Linked DNA regions of Homo sapiens: all the other regions are linked to region 6. Evidence: promoter capture Hi-C in 16 types of primary human blood cells and fetal thymus (Javierre and others, 2016). All regions are on one chromosome and are shown on one strand. Each heading gives the region's core, a stretch centred on a gene start or on the middle of the fragment in contact. The rest is flanking DNA. Distances are from core to core; before and after follow the strand shown.

Evidence for each region. Contacts are between HindIII fragments. The CHiCAGO score rates a contact against its expected background, and 5 or more counts as called.
Region 1: a contact is called between a fragment that was not itself captured here and the fragment with the promoter of NAT10 in region 6, in 1 of 17 cell types (erythroblasts). The highest score is 5.4, in erythroblasts.
Region 2: a contact is called between a fragment that was not itself captured here and the fragment with the promoter of NAT10 in region 6, in 11 of 17 cell types (fetal thymus, total CD8 T cells, naive CD4 T cells and 8 more). The highest score is 14.0, in fetal thymus.
Region 3: a contact is called between a fragment that was not itself captured here and the fragment with the promoter of NAT10 in region 6, in 2 of 17 cell types (megakaryocytes and erythroblasts). The highest score is 6.3, in megakaryocytes.
Region 4: a fragment that was not itself captured here is called in contact with the fragment with the promoter of NAT10 in region 6 in 4 of 17 cell types (megakaryocytes, erythroblasts, M0 macrophages and 1 more); the score reaches 9.3 in megakaryocytes.
Region 5: a fragment that was not itself captured here is called in contact with the fragment with the promoter of NAT10 in region 6 in 1 of 17 cell types (erythroblasts); the score reaches 5.3 in erythroblasts.
Region 7: a contact is called between a fragment that was not itself captured here and the fragment with the promoter of NAT10 in region 6, in 3 of 17 cell types (erythroblasts, fetal thymus and neutrophils). The highest score is 8.9, in erythroblasts.

The regions. Positions count from the first base shown.
Region 1 is chr11:33,792,383-33,795,765 of GRCh38, forward strand. No RefSeq gene overlaps it. Among named protein-coding and RNA genes, the nearest start is that of LINC02722, 11 kb to the right of the region's middle. The HindIII fragment of the contact is 1,185 bases long and covers 1,114-2,298 here.
Region 2 is chr11:34,435,120-34,438,722 of GRCh38, forward strand. LOC105376622 (a long non-coding RNA gene) reads left to right here. Exons shown (of 3, transcript XR_931180.3): 3 at 1,127-1,203. Among named protein-coding and RNA genes, the nearest start is that of CAT, 2.0 kb to the right of the region's middle. The HindIII fragment of the contact is 1,653 bases long and covers 1,370-3,022 here.
Region 3 is chr11:33,829,986-33,833,569 of GRCh38, forward strand. No RefSeq gene overlaps it. Among named protein-coding and RNA genes, the nearest start is that of LINC02721, 9.4 kb to the left of the region's middle. The HindIII fragment of the contact is 900 bases long and covers 905-1,804 here.
Region 4 is chr11:34,495,204-34,498,548 of GRCh38, forward strand. The region is part of intron 2 of ELF5 (E74 like ETS transcription factor 5); the gene reads right to left. Among named protein-coding and RNA genes, the nearest start is that of ELF5, 17 kb to the right of the region's middle. RefSeq lists an enhancer at 945-1,444. The HindIII fragment of the contact is 3,648 bases long and covers 1-3,243 here.
Region 5 is chr11:34,451,762-34,455,355 of GRCh38, forward strand. CAT (catalase) reads left to right here. Exons shown (of 13, transcript NM_001752.4): 4 at 316-446; 5 at 1,329-1,433; 6 at 2,040-2,165. Among named protein-coding and RNA genes, the nearest start is that of CAT, 15 kb to the left of the region's middle. The HindIII fragment of the contact is 9,504 bases long and covers 1-3,594 here.
Region 6 is chr11:34,103,538-34,106,931 of GRCh38, forward strand. NAT10 (N-acetyltransferase 10) reads left to right here and starts at 2,092. Exons shown (of 29, transcript NM_024662.3): 1 at 2,092-2,255. RefSeq lists an enhancer at 1,845-2,304. The HindIII fragment of the contact is 3,708 bases long and covers 1-2,967 here.
Region 7 is chr11:34,468,355-34,472,033 of GRCh38, forward strand. CAT (catalase) reads left to right here. Exons shown (of 13, transcript NM_001752.4): 11 at 1-41; 12 at 2,604-2,687; 13 at 3,014-3,679. The coding sequence ends at 3,079. Among named protein-coding and RNA genes, the nearest start is that of CAT, 31 kb to the left of the region's middle. The HindIII fragment of the contact is 2,316 bases long and covers 791-3,106 here.

The DNA of each region.
Region 1 (3,383 bases), core at 456-2,955, 310 kb before region 6:
GTGGTGATTGCTTGAATAATAATATGTCCTAGGTGGCACCAGAGTGTAAAGAAGGAAACAAAAACTGTACGTGGGAAGTGGAGGAATCCTTCTACAAAAGGATCAGAGGAAAGAGAACGTGAAAGGGAATGCAAATTGACACTGCTTAATGGCAGGAATGAAGGTTGATGGAGCACTGTGCTCTGCCCAATGCTAGAGACAAAGGGAGAGCAATATTAACCAAGGCAGCTTTGAGTATAGTGTCCCGCCCCTTTAGAGAAAAGTTTAGAATAGCTCCCCATACTCATATTTTGTAGTTAGTGAAGTTGAGTCTCAGAGACGCCAAGAGACATGCTTAAAGAGACAAAATCAGGAAGCAGTGTGCTGGAAACACATGATGGATCCATCTCCAAAGCACCTCCTCTTCCTGTTCTACCATGCTGCCTCCTTGAAGGAAACAAGGTGAAGCTGTCCTAGGAGAGACCTATTCTCCTCAGGGAAAGGCAACAGCAAATTTGATTTGTGTAACAAAAATATATTCCATACATAGAAATTGACAAACTGAATTTAAAATTTAGTCAAAAAGGCAAAGGACCTAGAATAGCCAAAACAATCTTCAGAAAGAAAAAGTCTGGAGGTCTTAACTTCAGGACTTAATAAAAGCTGCAGTCAGACTGGACGCGGTGGCTCATGGCTGCAATCCCAGCACTTTGGGAGGCCAAGGCAGGTGGATCACTTGAGGTCAGGAGTTTGAGACTAGCCTGGCCAACATGGTAAAACCCTGTCTCTATTAAAAATACCTAAAGTTAGCCGGACGTGGTGGCAGGTACCTGTAGTTCCAGCTACTTGGGAGGCTGAGGCAGGAGAATCGCTTTATGTAGGCATAAACCTGGGAGGCAGAGGTTGCAGCGGGCCAAGATTGCACCACTACACTCCAGCCTGGGTAACAGAGTGAGACTCCATCTCAAAAAAAAAAAAAAAAAAAAAAAAAAGCTGCAATTATCAAGACAGTGTGGTATTAGTGAAATAAATGACAGATCCATGAAACAGAATGAAGAAACCTGAAATAGAATCACATGTATATGGTGAGAGTCCCAAAACCTTTTTGTATATACAGTACAGTAGAGAGAAGAAAGCTTTCTTAGGGTGCTTTAACCAACTCTATTGAGGTATAATTTATATACAATATTATGCTTTCAGTTCAATGAGTTTTGACAGGTGTATAAGCCTGTGTAACCATTATCACAATGTTCTACATTTTCAATACCCTCAGAGAATTCCTTTGTGCCTCTTTGCTGCCAGTTCCTCCCCAAGCCTCAGCCCCAAGCAACTGCTGATCTGCGGTCACTATAGATGAGTTATGCCTTTTCTAGAATGTCCTATGCCTGGACTCATACAATAGATAGTCTTTTGTGTCTAACATATTTATGATGAAATATTGGAAACATTCCCTTTGAGACTGGGAATGAGACAGGAATGTCCACTATCACTGCTTAAATTCAACATTGTACTAAATAGTCAGTGAAGTAAGGCAAGAAAATAAAATATATGGTAAAAGATATTGGAAAGAAGAAATAAAACTGTATAATTTGCAGATTATATCATTATGTGTTTTGAAAACCCAAAAGAATCTACATAAAAATGTTAGTTACTATGAGTGCATCTTCAGTTTCCTGAATATAAAATCAATATATTAAATTATATTTCTAGGCCAGGCACAGTGGCTCATGCCTGTAATCCTAGCACTTTGGGAGCCCAAGGTAGGCAGATTGCCTGAGCTCAGGAGTTCAAGATCAGCCTAGACAACATGGTGAAACCCCATCTCTACTAAAAATACAAATAAATTAGCTGGGCATGGTGGTGCATGCCTGTAGTCCCAGCTACTCAGAGCTGAGGCACAAGAATCATTTGAACCCGGGAGGCAGCAGAGGCTGCAGTGAGCCAAGATTGTGCCACTGCACTCCAGCCTGGGAAACAGAGTGAGACTCTGTCTCAAAAAGAAAAAAATATATATTTCTATACATAAACCACACAATTAGAAAGCTGAAATTTAAAAAGGTAACATTTACAATAGCAATGAAAAATAGAACCTGGAAAGAAATCTAACAAAACTTATGCAAGAATTATTGGAAAAAATTATAAAACCAATAAAAGGCATTTTAAAATACCTAAATAAATGAAGAGCTATAACTTTTTAACTTACTACAAATAAATTGATTTAAAAACTCCATATCATAGAAATATAAATGATCACAAATTGATCTGAACATCCAACAATAAAAATACAAATCTCAATGGATATTTTGGTAAAATTTGGCAAGCTTATTTAAATATTTGGATGAAAAAGCACTAGTCCAAAAAAACGCCAAAATACTCTTGATGAAAATGAATATGATGGGGAGAATTGCCCTACCAGATATAAATCTATAACAATTAATTCAGGGCAGTATTGTCGTAGAGATAGAAAAAAATACACTAATGCGTTAGAATAGACAGCTCAGAAAAGCAATAGGAATATATGGACAATGTAATATATGGTGAAGGTGCTATAACAGATCAGTGAAGGAAAGTTTGAATTTTTTCAGTAAATGGCTCTGAGATCACATGAATAAAGAAAAATCAGAGGCTAGAGGAATTTTAAAAAGATACAGGACTTGTATAAAACAAACAGCAAAATGGCAGGCATAAATCCTACTGTATCCATAACTGGATTAAATATAAATGGATTAAACATTCCAATTAAAAGGCAGAGATTGGCAGAAAGGACTAAAAAACAAACAAACATGATCCAACCATATTATGACTAAAGAGAACACTTTAGAACCAAACAAACAAATAGGTTGAAAGTAAAAGAATGGAAAGCTATACTAAGGAAAAATAACCGAAAGAGAGCTGGAGTGATTGTATTAATAACAGACAAAATGGATTTTAAGGCAAAAATTGTTCTAGAGACAAATACAATTTATAACAATTAAGGATTAATCCATTAAAAAGATAGAAATATTATAAACATGTATGCACCTAACAGCCTTAAAACCTATGAAGCAAAAACTGATAGAACTGAAAGAAGAAATGAACATTTCTACAATAATAGTTGAAGATTTCAGTACCTGACTTTCAACACTAGACAAGACAACTAGACAGAATATTAACAAGAAATAGAAGACTTAAGCAACACACAAATAAACAAGACTTAACAGACATCTATAGAATACTCCCCCGAGAATACTAGAATACACATTCTTCTCATGAAACATTCTCCAGTATAGACCATAAAACAAATCTCAATAAATTTTAAAAGATTGAAATAATACAAAGTATGTTCTCAGACCATAATGGAATGAAATTAGAAAGCAATCACTGCATATGCAGAAGAATGAAACTAGACCCCTATTTCTCCTCAT
Region 2 (3,603 bases), core at 946-3,445, 330 kb after region 6:
CCAAGCCTCCATTAGTAAGTATAAAAAATAAGTTAAGGGCCGGGCGAGGTGGCTCACGTCTGTAATCCCAGCACTTTGGGAGGCCGAGGTGGGTGGATCACGAGGTCAGGAGATCGAGACCATCCTGGCTAACACGGTGAAACCCCGTCTCTACTAAAAACACAAAAAAATTAGCTGGGTGTGGTGGCGGGCGCCTGTAGTCCCAGCTACTCGGGAGGCTGAGGCAGGAGAATGGCATGAACCCAAGAGGCAGAGCTTGCAGTGAGCCGAGATCTTGCCGCTGCACTCCAGCCTGGGTGACAGAGCGAGACTTCGTCTCAAAAAAAAAAGAAAAAAAAGTGAAGGTAAAAACAAATTCCCAATTATTATTTCTATGTTTCTTCTGTTTTTTGTTTTGTTTTGTTTTTGAGACGGAGTCTTGCTCTGTCACCCGGGCTGGAGTGCAGTGGCATGACCCCGGCTCACTGCAACCTCTGCCACCTGGGTTCAAGCGATTCTCCTGCCTCAGCCTCACGTGCAGCTGGGACTACAGGCAAGAGCCACCACGCCCAGCTAATTTTTGTATTTTTAGCAGAGACAGGGTTTTGCCATGTTGACCAGGCTGGTCTTGAACTCCTGACCTCAAGAGATCCACCTGTCTTGGCCTCCCAAAGTGCTGGGATTACAGGCATGAGCCACCAGGCCTGGCCTATGTTTCCTTTTTTTGCAAACACCAGATCAGTAGCGTGGCACGTAAGGCCGAGGCGGGAAAAGGCACATCCATGTTCTTCTCCTTAGCATAGCTCATGCTATGGCCATCACCAGACACCAGAGGACATCTGGGTTGCCTCCTCCCAAGTAGGCAATTATTCATATTAAAGCGGGAAAGATATGGTGCAGCCAAATAGGCAGAGCAGAAGGTATGTGCTGCTACTGCATATAACACCACTGCTACTTTTTAAAGCAAATCCCACCTTCTTCTTTGGCTTGCTCAAGCCTGTTCCACAGTGAACAGGAGTCATGGAGCTGTGGTGATGTTTATTCTCTTCTCTTAAAGCCAACAGCCAATACTGAATTGTAACTCTCTTTGTTTCTTGTTGTGTTCTTTTCTCTTCCTTTTTGCCTAACTCTGAATTTACCTCACAAGGCCACTGTGAAGAGAATGAAACTGAAATATGTAGAACATTCTCGGCCTCTCTGAGGATGGGTGGAATCAGAACAGAGTAATTACCCCTTGTGCTGTCTTGTATGCCTGTCATCCAACAACACATGATGTTCATTCTCTCCATTCTTTTCTTGCAATACTGATGAAATAAAATTTGTCTATAAAGATTCCTAGCTGAGTACTCAAATGTTTTTCTTGAACATTTGTTACATGGTCTACTTTGCAAGCTTGGTTTCAAATTTGTTGATACCAGGATTAATAACAGTATGTCTTGTGCCAGTATATTTTATTTTCATTGAGTTCTGAAAATTGACTTCAGAGAACAGCATTTTTAAAATAACATTTTTATTTATATCAATAAAAATACCCATGAATTCATATGACTAAAATATTAAAACCTAGAACCCAATTTGTTTACCTAACCAATCACTTGCAATTACCTTTAGGTAATTGTATTGGTTTGGTTTCAAGTATTTTTTAACTAGGGCTGATTTTAAGAAGTGTTTTCATTTAAGCTGTAATTATAGTCGATAGAACTTCCACCTAATATGTGACTTTTTTTAATTTTTAATTTTTTTGAGATGAAGCCTCACTCTGTCACCCAGGCTGGAGTGCAGTGGCACAATCTTGGCTCACTGCAACCTCCGCCTCTTGGGTTCAAGTGATTCTCTCGCCTCAGCCACCTGAGTAGCTGAGACTACAGGCGTGTGCCACCACGCCCAGCTAATTTTTGTATTTTTAGCAGAGGTGGGGTTTTACCATGTTGGCCAGACTGGTCTCGAACTTCTGGCCACAAGTGATCCGCCTGCCTCGGCCTCCCAAGGTGCTGGGATTACAGGCGTGAGCCCCCGCACCCAGCCTCCTATGTAACATTATAAATTTATTGTCATTACTTGTAAGCCTGCCCTTTATTTTAAAATACAAGATATGACAAGATCAGAAACCAGTCTTGTTTCTCCATTTCTTTCTCTAGAAATAATTCTTTAGGAATTCAAATCCATAGTAACAAAAACAAAGGAAAAAAAAACATGCTTTTTTTTATATAATGAATAAAGGTTAAGAAATGACTCCAGGTCTCTTATTTATTTTGTTGATATTTGTGTTGGTTAGTTAAGAAGATGATTTGCTCGATTATTTCAACATTTATTTATTCAACAAACTGTGGACTTTGGAGATGAACAGCTGAAGCTAGAATCCTGACTATCCCTTAATAGCTGTGTAACTTTGGGCAAGTTATTTAACCTCCCTATACCTCTGTTTCCTAATCTGTAAAATGAAGATAATATTAGTATCTAACTCATAGGGTTGTTGGGAGGGTTAACTAAGCAAATATACAAAAAGCTGAGAATAGTCCCTGGTATATAGTAAGTGCTCAATAAATTATGGATGGGAGGATCCTGACCCACATGGAGTTTACAGTCTTGGCAGTATGGATCGGGCAGGTAGAAAAAGACACCAAATTACACAGCCAACAGCATCTTTATAATTGTTTTTAATATAGGAAAAGTATAGGGTGCTAAAGATCAATTTGTGGCTTTCTTTTCCAATGAACTGCTAAAGTTCCACTTTTATGCCCAAGATTCTTATCATACTTTTGTAAGATCAAGAACAACATGTGAAGTTTCCACTATTATATATCCACCCATTATATGTAGTTGTACTGGAAAAAATTAAAAGCTGATAACTTTTAATTTGAAGATGATGGTATATACTATGTATATATATTAAGGTGCTTAAAGATAAATCCTAGCACCTGAGGAGGTGTAGAAATCATTCAAACTCTTTGATTACAATGACAAACTAGTCAGTAACTTACTAAATATTGTACTATATATTACTAAGTATTTTACTCTTCAACATAGCTTTTTAAAGACACAAAGCTTTTCAAAATTCCTGCTTACCTGGGGGTAAAATTTGGGGAAGCAGATTTCTCCAGTGTTTAAAGAAGCCAATTTGGCAGTGTACCAGAGTTGAATACATTTTTCCCATCACAAGGGAATACATTTTTCCCATCTAAGTTAAGTTGTTTTTCTCTGGTAAAGGAGGAAATCAACACCCATCTGTACGGAGATAAACGTTTCAGAGTGTTTTTATATTAAATAATTAGTATACTAGTCTAGTAAGTGATAATCCACGAATAAGTTAAGAAGAGCTAAGAAAGAAAAAGAAAAGCATCCATCCATCCTTTGGTTGCAAATAATACTTACATTAGCGTATGGCAAAATTTAATTTTGTACAGAGTAATTTAACCCAGGATTGCTGACTTTTTAAGAGCTGAGAAAGCATAGCTATGGAGCGCAAGGCCCCACCCAGCAGGGTCTAAGTATTCCGTCTGCAAAACTGGCAGGCCACCAACGGCCGCGTCCCAGGGCGGCCTGAAGGATGCTGATAACCGGGAGCCCCGCCCTGGGTTCGGCTATCCCGGGCACCCCGGGCCGGCGGGGCGAGGCTCTCCAATT
Region 3 (3,584 bases), core at 105-2,604, 270 kb before region 6:
CAAGGAGAGAGGTGGAGTCAAGATCAGGACCAACAGGACATCAGAGTTCAGGGCTGTCTGATGAATTCAAGGAGATTCTTATTTAATCCATTTTCCATAGGAAACATCGACTCCTGGAAGAAGTTGGTGTGGGCTGCCTGGGAAAGGAGGTTTAGCATCATATGTGGGCTGGTGGTGGTGTGCTCTGGCTAACTTAACATCAAGGGATAGGGAGGTTCTGTCCTCAGACCCAACTGAGTTCCCATCATCCCCCACACCATGCCACCCATCAGTGAGTACAACCTGTAGGGATGCCCTGGAGGCCAAACTTCCCCTAAGTGCTGGGCTTTCAGCTTCTCTTCCCAGAACATCAGACTGACTTAGCTTTGGAATAACTTGGAATTGCAGACTGAGCATTCTGAGAATTCTGGTGATGTTGCAGGGTAACCTGAAATGGGCTGCCCTCCAGTGGGGTTATTGGGCAGAGTAAGGGTCAGGATGGAAGTCTGCCACTTTAGCTGAGGCCAATTTATTATTCATTTATTTATTTATTTAGAGACAAATTCTCGCTCTGTCACCCAGGCTGGAGTGCAGTGGTGCGATCTCAGGTCACTGCAACTTCCACCCACCAGGCTCAAGTGTTCTCATACCTCAGTCTCCCGAGTGGCTGGGACTACAGGCATGCACCACCACGCCTGGCTAATTTTTGTATTTTTAGTAGAGACAGTGTTTTGCCATGTTGGACAGGCTGGTCATGAACTCCTGGCCTCAAATGATCCACCAGCCTCAGCCTCCCAATGTGCTGGGCTTACAGGCATGAGCCACCGCACCCAGCCAAGAAATTTAAGTACATTTTCCTTCTATTTATATTTTGTAAGGGGCAGAACCAGGATTTGGACCCAGGTGTCTAACTCTGGAAGCTAAAAGCTTTCCATTATAACAAGTTGCCTCACCTGAGCCCGACTTAAAATCAGGTGATCTCAGCTATACTGGACTCCAACAGGAGTCATTGCTATTTTCTTGCTGTTGTATTTTATTCAAGTTTAGAAAAAGAAATAGCCAAAAAGCTCAGGCAAGGAGCAGACAAGACACAAAGAACTCTGAGTTCTGCCTGGGGAAGGAGCAGGGGACATGAGTCACCTTCCCCTCTAGACACAGTACTGCAATAGGATAATCCTCTCCCAACTTCCAAATAGAAGTGGCCAAATTTAGTGGCAGGAGGAGCTAGGGGCAATGTGATTGCGACTCCCACCTCTATCCAGAGAACTGGCCCTAAAGCATCTCACCTGCTGTTTCACCGAGAGGCTCGTGGTCTCCAGCATCACCCAAGAGCTTCTTAGTAATACAGAATCTTAGGCCCCACACCCAACCCACTGAATCAGAATGTGCATTTTAACAAGATCCCCAGGTGATCCTCATGTACATTACAGTTGGAGAAGTGCCTAGAACTTGACCCTTCACCTCGTTATAACTCAGTAACTTCACTTGTGAATCAGGCACAATAGCACCTGCTTGACTCACCACTCCTGGCTGTATGAGGATCAGAGAGGACAATGTAGGAAGTTAGAGGCAGAGGTGTTCAGGAAGTTATCTCTCGTGCCCCCTCTACCTTCTCCACTGCCATGGAAGCCTAATCTCTCTCTCAGAGGGAGAAGACTAGCAGGTGGCTCTTCTCTGGAAGAGCAGAGGAAATCAGGGACCCTCAACAGCCCATCCTCCATGGCCCCTGGGGGAATCTCTGAAGATTCTAGCTTTTCAACTGAAAGTTAGGCTGTAATTGACACTGTGTAATCCAGTAGACGGAATTTTGCAGAAATAAATATGAAGCTTATATTTGGGTTTTTAAAAAATCAAATTAGGCTGGGTGCTGTGGCTCACGCCTATAATCCCAGCCCTTTGGGAGGCCGAGGCAGGTGGATCACCTGAGGTCAGGAGTTTGAAACCAGCCTGGCGAACGTGGAAAAACCCCATCTTTACTAAAAATACAAAAATTAGCCAGGCATAGTGGTGCATACCTGTAATCCCAACTACTCAGGAGGCTGAGACAGGAGAATCTCTTGAACTTGGGAGGCAGAGGGTGCAGTGAGCAGAGATCGCACCACTGCACTCCCGCCTGGGTGACAGGGCAAGACTCTGTCTCAAAAAAAAAAAAATCAAATTATATAACAAATTATTCATGTGTGTATATATATATATATAGATATTAGGTTGGTACAAAAGTAATTGCGGTTTTTGCATTGTTAGAATTTTCCGTTTGATATTGGAATAAAACATAAGGCAAGAAAAGATAAAATTAAGAACATAATTCTTATTTACATTTAAGAATGTAAATAAATGTGGTTACCGTATACATCATTTTAATGGGCATTTCTCGCTTTATGTTTTTTTGCTAGTTTATTTTATGTTTATTTTAGACTATGGAAATGATGTTAGACAAAAAGCAAATTCGAGTGATTTTCTTATTTGAGTTCAAAATGGGTTGTAAGGCAGCGGAGACAGCTCGCAACATCAGCAGTGCGTTTGGCCCAGGAACTGCTAACAAACATACAGTGCGGTGGTGGTGCAAGAAGTTTTGCAAAGGAGACAAGAGCCTTGAAGGTGAGGAATGTAGTGGCCAGCCGTCGGAAGCTGACAATGACTAATTGAGAGCCATCACTGAAGCTCATCCTCTTACAACTACATGAGAAGTTGCCGAAAAACTCAGCGTCGACCATCCTACTGTTGTTCGGCACTGAAAGCAAATTGGAAAGATGAAAAAGCTCGATAAGTGGGTGCCTCATGAGCGGAGTGAAAGTTTAAAGAAAAAACATCGTTGTGAAGTGTCGTCTTCTCTTATTCTACGCAACAGCAACGAACCATTTCTCAATCGGATTGTGATGTGCGCCGAAAAGTCGATTTTATACGACAACTGGCGATGACCACCTCAGTGACTGGACCCAGAAGAAGCTCCAAAGCACTTCCCAAAGCCAAATTTGCGCCAAAAAAAAGGTCATGGTCACTGTTTGGTGGGCTGCTGCTGGTCTGATCCACTATAGCTTTCTGAATCCCAGAGAAACCATTACATCTGAGAAGTATGCTCGGCAAATCGATGAGCTGCACCAAAAACTGCAATGCCTGCAGCCGGCACTGGTCAACAGAAAGAGCCCAATTCCTCTCCACGACAATGCCCAGCCGTATGTCACACAACCAACACTTTGAACAAAAGTTGAAGGAATTGGGCTACACAGTTTTGCCTTATCCGCCATATTCACCTGACCTCTCGTCGACTGACTACCACTTCTTCAAGCATCTCGACAACTTTTTGCAAGGAAAACGCTTCCACAACCAGCAGGATGCAGAAAATGCTTTCCAAGAGTTCAAATGTTGAAGTATGGATTTTTACACTACAGCAATAAGCAAACATTTCTCATTGGTAAAAATGTGTTGATTGTAATGGTTCCTATTCTTACGAATAAAGATGTGTTTGAGCCTAGTTATAATGATTTCAAATTCATGGTCTGAAATTGCAATTACCTTTGCACCAACCATATATATATATAATGTATTTCTAATAAAACATTTTTCCTGCTCTTTCTCCAGTGCCTAGAATAGTGCCTGGCACATAG
Region 4 (3,345 bases), core at 170-2,669, 390 kb after region 6:
GGAGAGAACACAACACGAGGGCCTGAAAAGAAAGGCAGAGAGCAGAGAGTGGCTAAGGTGACGATGACAGAAAGGGTCCCTCACATGTTATACCCCACAGCAAATAGCAGTGGTGCGATTTGCAGCGTTTAAAGGTGAGTAGAACTCGCACCATTGTCAGTTGCTGATGATTCCAGGCAGGAGGTGGGTCCTCTGCCTGTCAGGTGCTACTACTCACTCAGCACCCTCAGCCAGCCGAGGCGCTACGCGTTCTTGTCGTCTCAAGTTTCTCAGGTCCCCTCAACAATCCTATCCAGTAGGTGTAATTGGGCTATTCCACAAAAAAGGAAATAGAGGCTCCCCTTAAAACTCAAAGGTCTTCCAGAGATCTCTTTTACCACCGAAGGGTGGGTGGAGGGGCAGTTGATTTATTTTATTTAAAAATTTTCAGAATTTTATATGCATTAAGATCAAAGCGTCAATATTGTGCCAGGGTGCTTGAGGCTGATGTCGTAGCCTCTACCTGGCAGATAGGAAGAGCCAGGGAGCCGGTGAGACCGATGACTCAGGTCTTGCTCACTGGCCACTGGCTGGAGCTGGCTTACCAGGCCCGTGGGGGCTCTTCAGGGCAGGCAGGGGTTCCTGGCAGAACAAGGGGCCATTCCTGAGTTCGGCCTGAGCTTTCATCTACTGATTTCTGGCTTTAGTAAACCTGAGGGGCCTTTTGGACTTTACTGGCGTCCTGTGAGAGATGTTTATGAGCCTTGACATTTTTCAGCTGCGGGCCCTGCCCTAGATGGCCATCGGTGTGCGGCCGTCGGAGGGCACAGTTGATTTCATGGAAAGGTTTCGCCAAGGCTCTGTTCCCGTTTCCCTCCCCTCCCCTCTCTGCTTCCACCCCCTTGTTATTTTCTTTGGCACTTGAAGAGGGCCATATTGTTTGCGGAAGCCAAGGGGGCCTCAAGGATTCGGAGAAACGCCCAGGCGGGGAGTCGGCCCCACACCGGGGAGGTGTTGCTGGCGCTGGCTCCCTGCTCCTCGGCGCTCTGCTTTGAAGCTCACCCACAGAGCGGCTTTGTGTGCGGCCTCGGCCCCTGGAGGGGAGCCAGAGCCCTGCGGAGGCTCCCTCTCCTCATCCGCAAGCTCCTTCCAAAGCCCCAGAACTGGGAGGAAAATGGCTGCTCTGGGTGCCATGGCAGGCCTCTTTTCCGGGGGTCCCATCCTCAGGACGGGAGGAGAGTGGCAGAGCGGAGGCTGCCCAGACGAGGGACGCCGCTGTCAGCCCCTCCTCACCAGCCCCTCTCCTGCTCTTCTCTTTCAGGAGGCTCCACGGCCCAGAGTCTTCCCACAGCGACTTCTCTTTGGATGGAACGTGGTCCCCATCTGCCTTCTCCTGAGGAATCTCTGCTCATCCTCACTCCCCCTCGCAGAGGTCTCTTCCTCCTCACTGAGTGCCCATCAGGCGTCCTCCTCATCCCTCCCCTCCAGACCTAGAGCTTTTGCTCGCCCTGAACCAGGAGTGCTTGGAGCCTGGCCTAGCCCACCACAGGCCTACCTCAGTGAGTGTGACTGACTGACCAGGTGACTGACAGTCACTCTCTCCACTTTACACGTGAGGAGATTGCCGTTCCGGGGACTGACGGGACCCCTGTAAGGTCACGCGGCCTGTCAGTAAAGGAGCTACTGAAGAGGGAAAAGTGGCATTTTCCCTCTTACCACGCCCCACTCTTCTTGGTTGAGGAGGACCAAGTTGGGCACACATCTCAAGACTGACTAAAGCAAGATTTGGATGAAGGTAGATATGTGTAATTGTAATTATAAATAATGGATAAGCAGAGCCTGACTAGAAAAAATAAAAAATACAATCTAGCTTTGAAGAATCAGAAAGAGGATGGAGAGACTGAAGATGATAGTGTTTAGAACCTTAATGAAGACATGAAGAAGACCCTTTTGCTACTTGGAAGACATGAACTCAGGGCAATCAAATAAGGGGTTATATACCCGCAGAATATATTATTTTTAATGGGTTGTGTTGTCTGGAAATGTAAAGTGTTTTTCTCAACGCTTCTATCATTTATAAAATAATCTCAACATTTTGGGAAAGTTGAGCCATGAGGCCCTTCTGCCTATGTCGACCAGTAGACCATCATGGGCCTGGTAGGCTTGATCTGAATGCCCATAGGTCACTATTATTAAGCAGCAGGCTCTGCCAGCTCCTTTGAAGTCTGAAGTGGGTCAGGACACTTGTTTCAGGGCCAGCTGCATTGGAAGGAAGAATTGAACTAGAGGGAGTTTTCAGAAATTCTAGGGGAATTTTCACAAGTGATGCTATAATCTGAGATGCATTTAAATTCAGAAGGAGGACTTTAGCTTTCAGAGCTGGGTGGGTGCACCAGATGCCCGCAGGGTCAGCAGATAATGTCTATGCCTGAAGTGGCCCCATGTGGAGACAGTGGGGATTGGAAAGTTCATGCCAAAGTGCACAATGGCTACCCGACCCCTTGCCTTGTGGAAAGGTGGGCCTTGTGTTGCCAGGACCAGATTGCTAACTGAAATCTCCTGATTTCTATTTTCAAGTGTGGCAACTGGCTTGGTTTTTACAAAACACCACGGGAAGCCCAGTCAAAATGTCTTCATGGGCTGGATCACTCCTGGCCATCACTTTGTGATGAACAATCTGACAGGCTTTTGGCCACTTGTCTCCTTCAAGATTATTGTTTGGAGTGGGCATGCTAAGACTTTGAAGGATTCTTTTATGGTTGAATAATATTTTCTTCAAGTTAAAACTTATCTGGAAAAAAGCAACCCTGTTTTACTGGGAGTGGAGGTGAAGGTATTAGCTCCAGGAAGCTCCTTGAAAATCACTGTTCTCAAACTTGAAACCAGGATTCCTATATTTTGAATTCCCCTTCAAAGTTGAAAGGGCACATGGTCTCTCACACTTAGTGGTCCTGCCTCCTTGGACTCGTCTGCAAAATAAAAATAATAGGACCTACTTATCTGGGCTATTAAAAGGATTATGTAAATTAATACATGGAAAGTACTTAGAACAGGGCCAGGCATATGGCAAGTGCTCATTAAATATCATCCACTTATACTTGTCAATATTAGGGTTACCTCCTGGGCTTCCCGTGTCACCACTTTAATTACATTCCTTCAAACACTTCTAATTTTTTTTTTTAATGTGTAAGCCAGCTGCTTTGTCCCTTTCTAGACCTTCGGTTTATTTTCTTCATAAAAAAATAGGAGTTATATTAGAAACCAAGCTTAGAAACCAAACCTAGCTAATTTGTCTTTGCATTGCCAGCCTGAGTTAGGTCCCTTAATGCTGCCATCTTTGGTTTAAAAGCTGGGGACACAGGCGAG
Region 5 (3,594 bases), core at 589-3,088, 350 kb after region 6:
CATAATTATTTTCTTCCCTTATTTTAATTAAAAGTTCAATTACCTGTTTGAACAAAGTTATCTTATTATGGTAAATGAATGACATTGTCAGCTGTTATTACATGTGTTCTCTTATTGCTCTCAATTAATTATTTTGTTTGATTTGTGGACTGAATTAGCTGGTGGGTAGAAATAATAACCCGGGCACTTAAATACCTAATTTAGTTCTTGGAAGTGGATTAGAAAGGATGGATCCAGGTGCTTCTTTATGTCTCCAGGCTTCTTGGATGCAAAGTGCTGTGGCTTATGCTTCCTGTTTCCATTTGAATATTGTAGCTGGAGAATCGGGTTCAGCTGACACAGTTCGGGACCCTCGTGGGTTTGCAGTGAAATTTTACACAGAAGATGGTAACTGGGATCTCGTTGGAAATAACACCCCCATTTTCTTCATCAGGGATCCCATATTGGTAGGTAATAGAGTATTTTGCACTCAACAAATGTTTGTTGACTTAAATTGATTTCAAATAGGTTGGCATTTGAGGAGAAGCCGTGGGAAAGGCAGAAAGAAAAGAATGCGAGTTGTCTGGACTACTTTTTTCAACACATTTTTCTGTATTTAATAAGATAAAGTAAGAACAGTTACCATTGGTCTTAGATTTGTCATTTTAAGACAGATTGACTTAATGGGAAGTGAGTTTAGTTTTCCTTGCAGAGCATCGAAGATTAGTAAAAAGAGGGACTTTACTTTGGAAACAAGCAGAGGGTGTCTCTACATGCTCTGAGTCAGCAGGAGGGGGTGTGTGTGCGTGCGCGCATGCGGGAGGGTGGGTATATTTTTTCCGTGAAGAAATACTATAAATCCCAGCACTTTGGGAGGCCAAGGCAGGCAGATCACTGGAGTCCATGAGTTCGAGACCAGCCTGGGCAACATGGCAAAACCATATCTCTGCAAAAAAATACAAAAATTAGCCAAGTGTGGTGGCTCATGCCTATAGTCCCAGCTACTTGGGAGGCTGAGGTGGGAGATTTGCTTGAGCCCAGGAGGTCAAAGCTGCAGTGAGCTGTGATCATGCCATTGCAATCAGCCTGGGTGACAGAGTGAGACCCTGTCTTAAAAAAAAAAAAAAAGAAAAGACTATAGTTTTGAGTATATTTGAAATACTTTAGGGTATCTTAGATGCTAGTTGTCTATGCTGAGTAAATTTCATATTATGGTTTGGCAGTTTAAAATTCTAGGATTGTATTTAGAATTATAATCCATAAACCTAGTAATAGGCATATATAATGAAAGACACCATAATTCCTGTAAACTTAGTTTTTGGATTTTTTTCTCTCTTTTTTCTATTTAGTTTCCATCTTTTATCCACAGCCAAAAGAGAAATCCTCAGACACATCTGAAGGATCCGGACATGGTCTGGGACTTCTGGAGCCTACGTCCTGAGTCTCTGCATCAGGTATGAACCCTTTTTTGCCATTGTATTATATCACCTGGGATGCAGTGTTTAATTATGCCTCTTCATAAAGTGTCTCTCCAGTTTTGGCTATTTTATTGGAATCAGCTTCCTCAGATTTCTTGATCGTGAAGAGTTTTGTAGTAACTGGCTTTACTAATCATCCCCCATTCATCGGCCTTAAATGATGATGATGATGATGATAGATAGCTAGCAACATTGTCAGTTGATATTTAGCAGTAGTAAGGATGAAAGTCTGTAGTGTAAGGTAAAGCTCTGTATTAAGGAAGTGGGGGGAAAGTAGTACCAAACAAATTTGCTATGCAAATAAATTTTGAATAACAAATTAGGCCAGTTTTCAGGTTGTTTTGGCTTTCCTTCATAGAATTTTGAGTCATAGTATTAGTGATTTGCATATCATTTTGATTTAAAATTTTTCTGTTTGTTATTTTCTACAAGTGAAATAATAATGGTAACCCTTCCCATGGGAAATTGGCTAGTATGTTTTATGTCATTAAGGGACTTTCTGGAAACTAAGGAATATCTTAAAAATCAAGGATGTTTTGATTTAAATGAAAACATTTTAGGCTTTATATTTCTGTTCTTTAGGTTTCTTTCTTGTTCAGTGATCGGGGGATTCCAGATGGACATCGCCACATGAATGGATATGGATCACATACTTTCAAGCTGGTTAATGCAAATGGGGAGGCAGTTTATTGCAAATTCCATTATAAGGTATGTGTTACCTTTGGGGCAGAGGGTACAAGGCTCCTACCGCATACCTCCTTATTTTTCCTGAAGGATTGAGCAAAGATTAAGGCTTCTCCCACTTTTCCCTCACCTCCATCCCCAAAGTTGGGAAGTATTGATCTCATTGATCAGTACTGATTTTGTTGGCTACCATCTGAGGACCTTGGAGCGTATCCCAATCTCATTATCACTTCCAACATCCAATAGTGTCTTTCCAATATCATTTCTTTTAACTTTTTAAGTCATCCATCTATTTACTTAGCATTTATTGAGGTTTTATTATGAACAAGGCATATAAGTAAAATCAATTACAAATGTCAGAAAACAAAATTATACTGTTTTTAAAAATTTGCATTCATATAGCCAGATCAAATCAGTTACATCTGGGGAGGGTTTTGAGAATGTTTTAATCAACTGAAATATTATAAAGGGCCCTCTTTTGGTATAAGCATGGCATTTGTTACAATGAGCAATATTGCCAGTGAACCCTGGCATGTTAGTGATATTCCCAGAGAACTCCCAAGGGCTAGTCAGAAACAAGCCTGAGAACCTCTGTTTCCAAATACTGCTGCTAAGATAAGCAGAAAGAAGTGGGCTCGTGACCAGTACTGGATAATCTCTCTCTTAGTGACATCCAAAAGCCCTATTTTCTTCTATCCTGCTTTCTTCTTTATCTGAACAATTTAATGTAGGTATATCAAACAGGAAAACTATCACCTCTTTTTATATTCATAACTTGGATCTATAATATTTGACAAGGAAAAATTTTATGAAACAGTTGACCCATTGGCTTGTAATTGCCAAAAGGGTCAATGTAGTATTACTTAGAATAAGACTAAGTGGTTGTATCTAGGACAGCCAGTCTAGTTGGTAGCCTTGGAGTTATGCCAGCCTGAACTCAAATTTCTACTCTCCTAGATAATTGTGGCCTTGGGCATAGTATTAAAAGTTCTTTGAGCTCCAGTTCTTTTCACTGTGAAGTTGGCATAATATTACCAGCTATACAAGTCCTGGAAAGATTGGATTGCTTGTGGGTCTTTTATCCTAGGGCCCTAAGGTAGCCTGAGATCTACATGGATTCATCAGTCTGGATTATTCTGACCTAAGATTATTCTTTTCTAAACCTAAAGGATTCAGTTAAAATCAGAAAGGTATTGCAGTGTTATTGTACTACTTAATATATTAGCTCTTTGGGCGATCTGTACATGGTGACCTTCATTGTTTTAATCCTGAAGGTGGCTTTACTTCTTGTTCAGTAGTAAGAGTTCAAACCTTTTCACTGATGAGACAGTTGGGATTTCTGTGGTAGAAATAGACCAGCGTTCAGAGTTGATTTTTGCTAAGGAAATCTTTCTGCGGCACTTGGCTTGTTGGGAGGTCTTTGAGAATAAGATCACATGGTCAGTCCATCAAA
Region 6 (3,394 bases), core at 842-3,341:
CAGCCTGGCCAATATGGTGAAATCCCGTCTCTATTAAAAATAAAAAAGTAGCCAGGCGTTGTGGCATGCGCCTGTAGTCTCAGCTATTTGAGAGGCTGAGGCAGAAGAATCGCTTGAACCCGGGAAGTGAAGGTTGCAGTGAGCAGAGATCGCGCCACTGCATTCCAGCCTGGGCGACAGAGCGAGACTTCGTCTCACAAAAAAAAAAAAAAAAAAAAAAAAAAAAAAAAAAAAAAAAAGGCTGTATTGTTTGGGGTGGGGTTGGTGGCTCACTTAATAAAGTTACCATTTAAAGAACATTCAATGCAATGAACAACATATATGGACCAAGAGATGGTAAGGAGGCTTGTTGGAGTGGCCCATGTGAGAAATGGATTCCAACTTAAGGTGCGGATGGGGTGGTGGTAGTGAATGGATTCTATGGATTCCCTATCTCACTGGTCACTACTCAGTATCCTTTGCTGATTTCTCCAGGTCTTGGATGTCAGACTTCATCTCTAGCTGTGTTCTTCCCTGGGTGATCTGATCCAATCCCATGATTTTGAATATGATCAGCATTTTAGTCCTGAATATTTCTAGGCCCCAAACCTCTCAAAACTCATATTCAACATCTTGATATGAATTTCTCAATATTCCAAGTCAACTCCTTGATTACCCAACACCAGTTGTTCATTCATCCAGTTGCTCAGAGCAAATGTTTTGGGTGCCATCTTCAATGTACTTTTATAACCTGCATCTAATCCTTAAGTGAGTCCACGTGGTTCTAACTTGAATATCCAGAGTTATCTTATACTTCTAACTACTACCACAACTACCATCCTAGCACAGGTGACTACAATAGCTTATAATTGTTCTCCTTTTTCTACTTTTGCCTTCCTGTGATTTAGTTTTTGCATAACAGGAAGCCTTTTAAGAGGGCAAAGCAGATTTTCTCATTTCCCTGTCCCCCACAAACTCCAGTGGTTTCTCATCATGACTAGAATTAAATTCTAAATCTGGTCCTTCACTTGCCCACTGCTTTGGCCACACTGACTGCTTTGCCAGGACTCCCCCATCTTGGAGCTTTTGTATGTACATCTTTGGCACGGGGAAGTTTTTCACTCATATTCTCAGGGCTCATTCTTTCTAAATTTCAGGTCCTTGTTCCATCCAGTGTCACCCCGTCAGAGGCCTTCAGTGTTCGTTTCTAAAATAGTATCCTTAGTCACTTTACTCACTGGATACTTCTGCTTAATAGCATTTAAAACTTAACCTAGAATTAACCACGAGGGGCAGGAACATTTTGGACACTATCCCTTGTGAGCAGAATAGTGCGTGGGCATATTCACATTTTGCTGAATGAACTAAAAAATTTCATGATGGATGTTGGATTAAATGGGTAGTGCTGCTGATGACATTAAAAGTGTATCTGGGGAAGGGGTTTGGATTCAGACATTTGCGGTATCCAGGAGGAAACATCAAGCAGTTGATAATGTTTTTTGAAGTTCAGCGATCTGCCCCAAAGTCAAGAATGCAACACTATGTATAGGTTGTCCCTGTAGTCATGTTCTTGGAGTTCACTGGAAGCCCAGGGGGAGTAATTTCATTTGACGACCATATACAGGCCTAATGGGAGCCTGCAAAGTACAGCGGCCGCAGTCATGGGTAGATTACAGGATTCCCATCTGTAAGATCAGTACTGTGGGGGTGGAGGGCCAAGCGAAACCAATAAAATAGGTCTGTTGGCCGAGTTTCCTCAACTTAACGGGGATCGGTTAAATTGAACACAAATCGTTGGATCCGTCGCGTTTCGCGTAACCAGGCTGACGCTGAAAACCCTGGACCTACGTGGGCAGGCCCTGGGGTGCGGACATCTATTTTGCCCTTCTTAGCCGAGGTACTTTAGCTGGGATATGAAGAGTGAAGAGGCAAACCGCAGCCAACACCCAGCTACCGCGAGCAGTGGGACTAAAATGCGCAACCGCAGTGGACATCTAGGCCTCAGCTCCGCTTCTGGTGGCTTACGTCATTACTCAGCGACAGCCTTGAGGAAGGTCCCTTCTCGCTCGCCATCTCTGCGACTTTAATGCGCTTGCGCACGTGCTGTCTACCAGTTCCTGAGAGGGACGCGTGCCGCGGAGCCAGGCTTACTACGTGACCCGGACACCAGGCATACGCTAGGGGCAGTCAGCTGTGCCTTCTCTTTCGGAGTTGTTCCGTGCTCCCACGTGCTTCCCCTTCTCCACTGGCTGGGATCCCCCGGGCTCGGGGCGCAGGTACCCAACGCGGGAGGGCCGGGTATGGATGCCAAGATCGGTGTCTGTGTTCTTCCTGGGTCGAGAGGGGACCGGCCTCAGGATGAAGGCTCTGCATCCGGACGGATACCTGGCCTACGCCGTTTGTCCTCCACCCCTCTTTTGGGGCGCTCCAAGATAACAGAATCACCTCTCCAATACGCAGCCGCTCTCGGCGCGTGCTTCTCGAGCGTCCTCGGGGATTTGCGTGGCTCGATAACCACCTCTAAGTAGTGCCTGTAACTGGGGAGTCGGGGTGAATGGGTGGGTGACAACAGTTGTTTTCCGTGGAGCTTGCCCGCAGTGCCTGGCTGCAGGTCTGGGCATTATACTTAGGGTAATCTGATTCCAGATCCTTCCACGTTCTTAAATCCTTCACTGTGCACATTCCTTTATACTCTTTATTCAGCAGTCACATTCAGGACTTGGTTTTGTTTGCCAGTGCACCTAAAATGGTGCCTGCCACATAGATGTTATGTGTAGATAGACGAATGAGTGAGCGAAAAATAATCATCTCCTTCAAGGCCTTCCCCATCCAGGCCTTCCATGACAGCTTCAGCCCATAGTAATCTCAGCCCTTCCTTCATCTGACCGGTCCCTCAGTATAGCTATTTTTTTTTTTTTTACATCTAATTTTACCTGTGTTCTTGTTCCTCATCTCATTCTCTTAAATACCTTCTTCAAGAAGAATGCAAGCTTGAAGTCAAGGGCCTTGTGGTACTACTTCTGGGGCTCCCACAGTAGCTAGAGCAAAAGGCAGCCCCCATTAATTAGTTGTTGATTGATTTTTGCGGGATCTTTATGTGGCCGGCAACACAAGGTTTACAAGTTGGGAAGATTGGCGAACTGGGAAGAGCTCAGGCTTTGGAGTCAGGAAGACTTGAGTGTGAATTCTGTCTGTCGTTTTTCTGCCTCGGGATATTTGAATTCTTTATACTTTCTCCTTTACGTATAAATTGGGGTCCTTGACAGTGACTTAGTGTTTTATAGTAAGACATATGCTAAAATCTGTTTGGATTGGAAGGTTAGAAGGGACAGTTAAGGTATGGTAAGTTTCAGTAAATGAGCTTTATGTTTATAATGCAGTAGGTACCAGAGTTTCTAAGTAGCATGTCACTTTT
Region 7 (3,679 bases), core at 699-3,198, 360 kb after region 6:
GCCACCTGAAGGATGCACAAATTTTCATCCAGAAGAAAGCGGTGAGTCTTTGTAAGCTGAAGGGTGTCCTCTGCTGGCTAAGGAAGACAGTGCAGCTGTGTGGGAGAACCCTAAAAAGAAAGTGCCATTTCTGTTTTACTTGACTTAAGAGAACTTAAAAAAAAAAAAATAAACTAGTAATCCCCAACCAACTTCTGATTATTTTCTTTCCATGTTTTATCTGGTCTGGCATATCCATCGTCCTTAGCTGTTTGTCCAGTGTGTACTAATTTAGTTGTGTTCAGACTGAATTTTGTCCTATTCTGTTTAATTCAGCTGCAGCCAAGTTCTGTGCAAGATAGTAAATGTGCAATATCAAAATGTGAGTCCTGCTGCAATTCTACTTAAACTTTGGATGATAATAAATATATCAGCCGGTGTGATGGCATGCACCTGTAGTCCTAGCTACTTAGGAGGTTGAGATGGGAGGATCGCTTGAGCCCAGGAATACAGGGCCAGCCTGGACAACATAGGGAGACCCTGTCTCTAAAATCAGTCAATCAGTCAATCAGTCTGTCTTTCTTTTTTGCATTTTTATGGTTTAAAACCTGCCTAAAGGCTTAATGTCATAATACCTCGATCCTCCTTCAGATGCAGACTAGAAATTTGCATGATTTCTGGAATAAGAACTGCAATGCTTCCAAAAGGCAGGCTAGACTTTCATGCTAAGGTGCTGGGGTATTTCTGATGGCCGCTCATCGAGCTGAGTGAAGCCCTCTCACTTCTGGTTTCCTGGCCTGTCCCAGAGCTAAGCTTTTTGCAAATCTAGAAATCCCCCTTTTTCCTTGGCCCCTAGTTGCTGCTTCTCAGTTCCTAGGGGCAGCTGGGCTAGCAGCTGTCTGGGCTGTGTCCCAGAGCCTGGGTTCCAGTATCAGCAGAGAGCTTGACAGGCGCTCTGTGTGGTAGGCAGGGCAGGATTTATCTCCTTTTACTGGAGAGAATGGATACGACAGCTTGTAAATAGCAGAACTGGGCTGGAACCCTTGGCATTCTCCTTTCACATATGCTGAAACTGTAAGGCTTTTATGGGTTCCCAATGCCCTGCCTCCTCTTGCTGTCCACTGGGGAATTCCTGCCTGAAGTGTGTGGAGTTGTGCTGCATGTACCAGTGTTCTTGTATCCTTCACATTAACTTTAGGCTGTGTCTGGGCCCGTTTCTCAATGTAAATCACTGTAATTTGTTAAGCGCTTACTCTGAGGTCAGCTCTTTTCATGCAGTAAATGCACCTCACTTCTCAGCATTTTTCTCACAGCATCCTGTGAGGTAGGTTGTGTGGGTTTTTTTTTTTTAAGATGGAGTCTTGTTCTGTCACCCAGGCTGGACTGCAGTGGCATGATCTCGGCTCACTGCAACCTCTGCCTCCTGGGTTCAAGAGATTTTCCTGCCTCAGCCTCCCCAGTAGCTTGGACTACAGGCATGCCCCACCATGCCCGACTAATTTTTGTGTTTTTAGTAGAGATGGGGTTTTGCCATGTTAACCAGGCTGGTCTTGAACTACTGACCTCAGGTGATCCACCCATCTTGGCCTCCCAAAGTGCTGGGATTTCGGGCGTGAGCCACTGCGCCTGGCCTAGGTTGTATGGGTTTTTTTCCCCGACAATAAGCAATTCTGTAATTCTTTGACAGTAACTGTGTGTCCTATAACTCAATTCAATTCTAACAGTAGCTCCTGGAGCTAGAGTCAGAACCCAAAGATTTAGGGGTCATTTCCCACTTTAGATAACAAATGAGGTACCCTGGCTATGCACACTTCTGCAGATTCTGACTGCAAATCAAACCCTTTCCTCAGGTTTGATAATTTGCTGGAAAGACTCATAGAACTCAGGAAAATGATTTACTTATGATTACCAATTTATTATAAAGAATACAACTCAGGAATAGACAAATGGAAGAGGGGCATGGGGGAAGGCCTCGGAGCTTCTGTGCCTCCCTGAGTGGACCACCCTTCTAGCTCCTGGATGTGTGCACTAATCCAGACACTCCCTGACCTTGCCAGTTGTGGGTTTTTCTGGAGGTTTTATGACATAGGCATGATTGATGAAATTATTGGCTATGGGTGATTGAATACAATCTCCAGCCCCTCTCCCATCCCTGGAGGTTTGGGGGTGGGGCTAGAAGTTCTAACCTTCTGATCGCGTGCTTGTTCTTCCTGGTGTGAGCCTCCATCAGGAATCTATGTAGGCCCCCATGAATCATCTTAGTAGTATATAAAAGACAGTACATTCGAAGGGTTTTAGATCTGTGTCAGGAATGGGGGACAAAGACCAAATAGTATTTTTAAAATTATACTGATTAGGTGTCATTTTCTTGCGCATTTCGGCAGAGGGACATAAGCTCAGTAAGTTAAGTGACCTATCCGAGGTTGCTCAGCCAGTATATGTCAGAGTGTTCACTGGACCTGCATCTTAACTCTGAGGCTGGCATTGTTAAACACCTGTAGTACTGCCTCCTGCTGAAACGTCTTTCCTCCCCTATGGAATAAACACTGGGAAACCACAGTCCCTGGGGAGTGATATAGTAGGGAGTTAGAGTAATGCTTGCATTTATTTTCCTTTGGCCTTAGGTCAAGAACTTCACTGAGGTCCACCCTGACTACGGGAGCCACATCCAGGCTCTTCTGGACAAGTACAATGCTGAGAAGCCTAAGGTAAGCTGGGAGCAGCCTGGCCATGCAGAGGCTGTGTGTGCTGGGTTGGAGTAGGCATGACTTAGTTACCACTTAGCATTACAGTCTGCAGGGGCCATTACCTGCCACTGTTAGATTTCTTAGGCAGCTGTGCAGAAATTCATTTGAGAGATAAAGAATTCACTGGCAAAACACATACTCTTCATTTTAGCGCTGGGCAATTTAAGACAGTTAAAGTGAATGAATTCTGAATTATTATTTTCATTTGCATACATATTAAAACTGAGTAAATATCACGTTGCTGCCCATGAGGTGATTAACCTGCTCATCTTGTTCTTTTAAAACAGAATGCGATTCACACCTTTGTGCAGTCCGGATCTCACTTGGCGGCAAGGGAGAAGGCAAATCTGTGAGGCCGGGGCCCTGCACCTGTGCAGCGAAGCTTAGCGTTCATCCGTGTAACCCGCTCATCACTGGATGAAGATTCTCCTGTGCTAGATGTGCAAATGCAAGCTAGTGGCTTCAAAATAGAGAATCCCACTTTCTATAGCAGATTGTGTAACAATTTTAATGCTATTTCCCCAGGGGAAAATGAAGGTTAGGATTTAACAGTCATTTAAAAAAAAAATTTGTTTTGACGGATGATTGGATTATTCATTTAAAATGATTAGAAGGCAAGTTTCTAGCTAGAAATATGATTTTATTTGACAAAATTTGTTGAAATTATGTATGTTTACATATCACCTCATGGCCTATTATATTAAAATATGGCTATAAATATATAAAAAGAAAAGATAAAGATGATCTACTCAGAAATTTTTATTTTTCTAAGGTTCTCATAGGAAAAGTACATTTAATACAGCAGTGTCATCAGAAGATAACTTGAGCACCGTCATGGCTTAATGTTTATTCCTGATAATAATTGATCAAATTCATTTTTTTCACTGGAGTTACATTAATGTTAATTCAGCACTGATTTCACAACAGATCAATTTGTAATTGCTTACATTTTT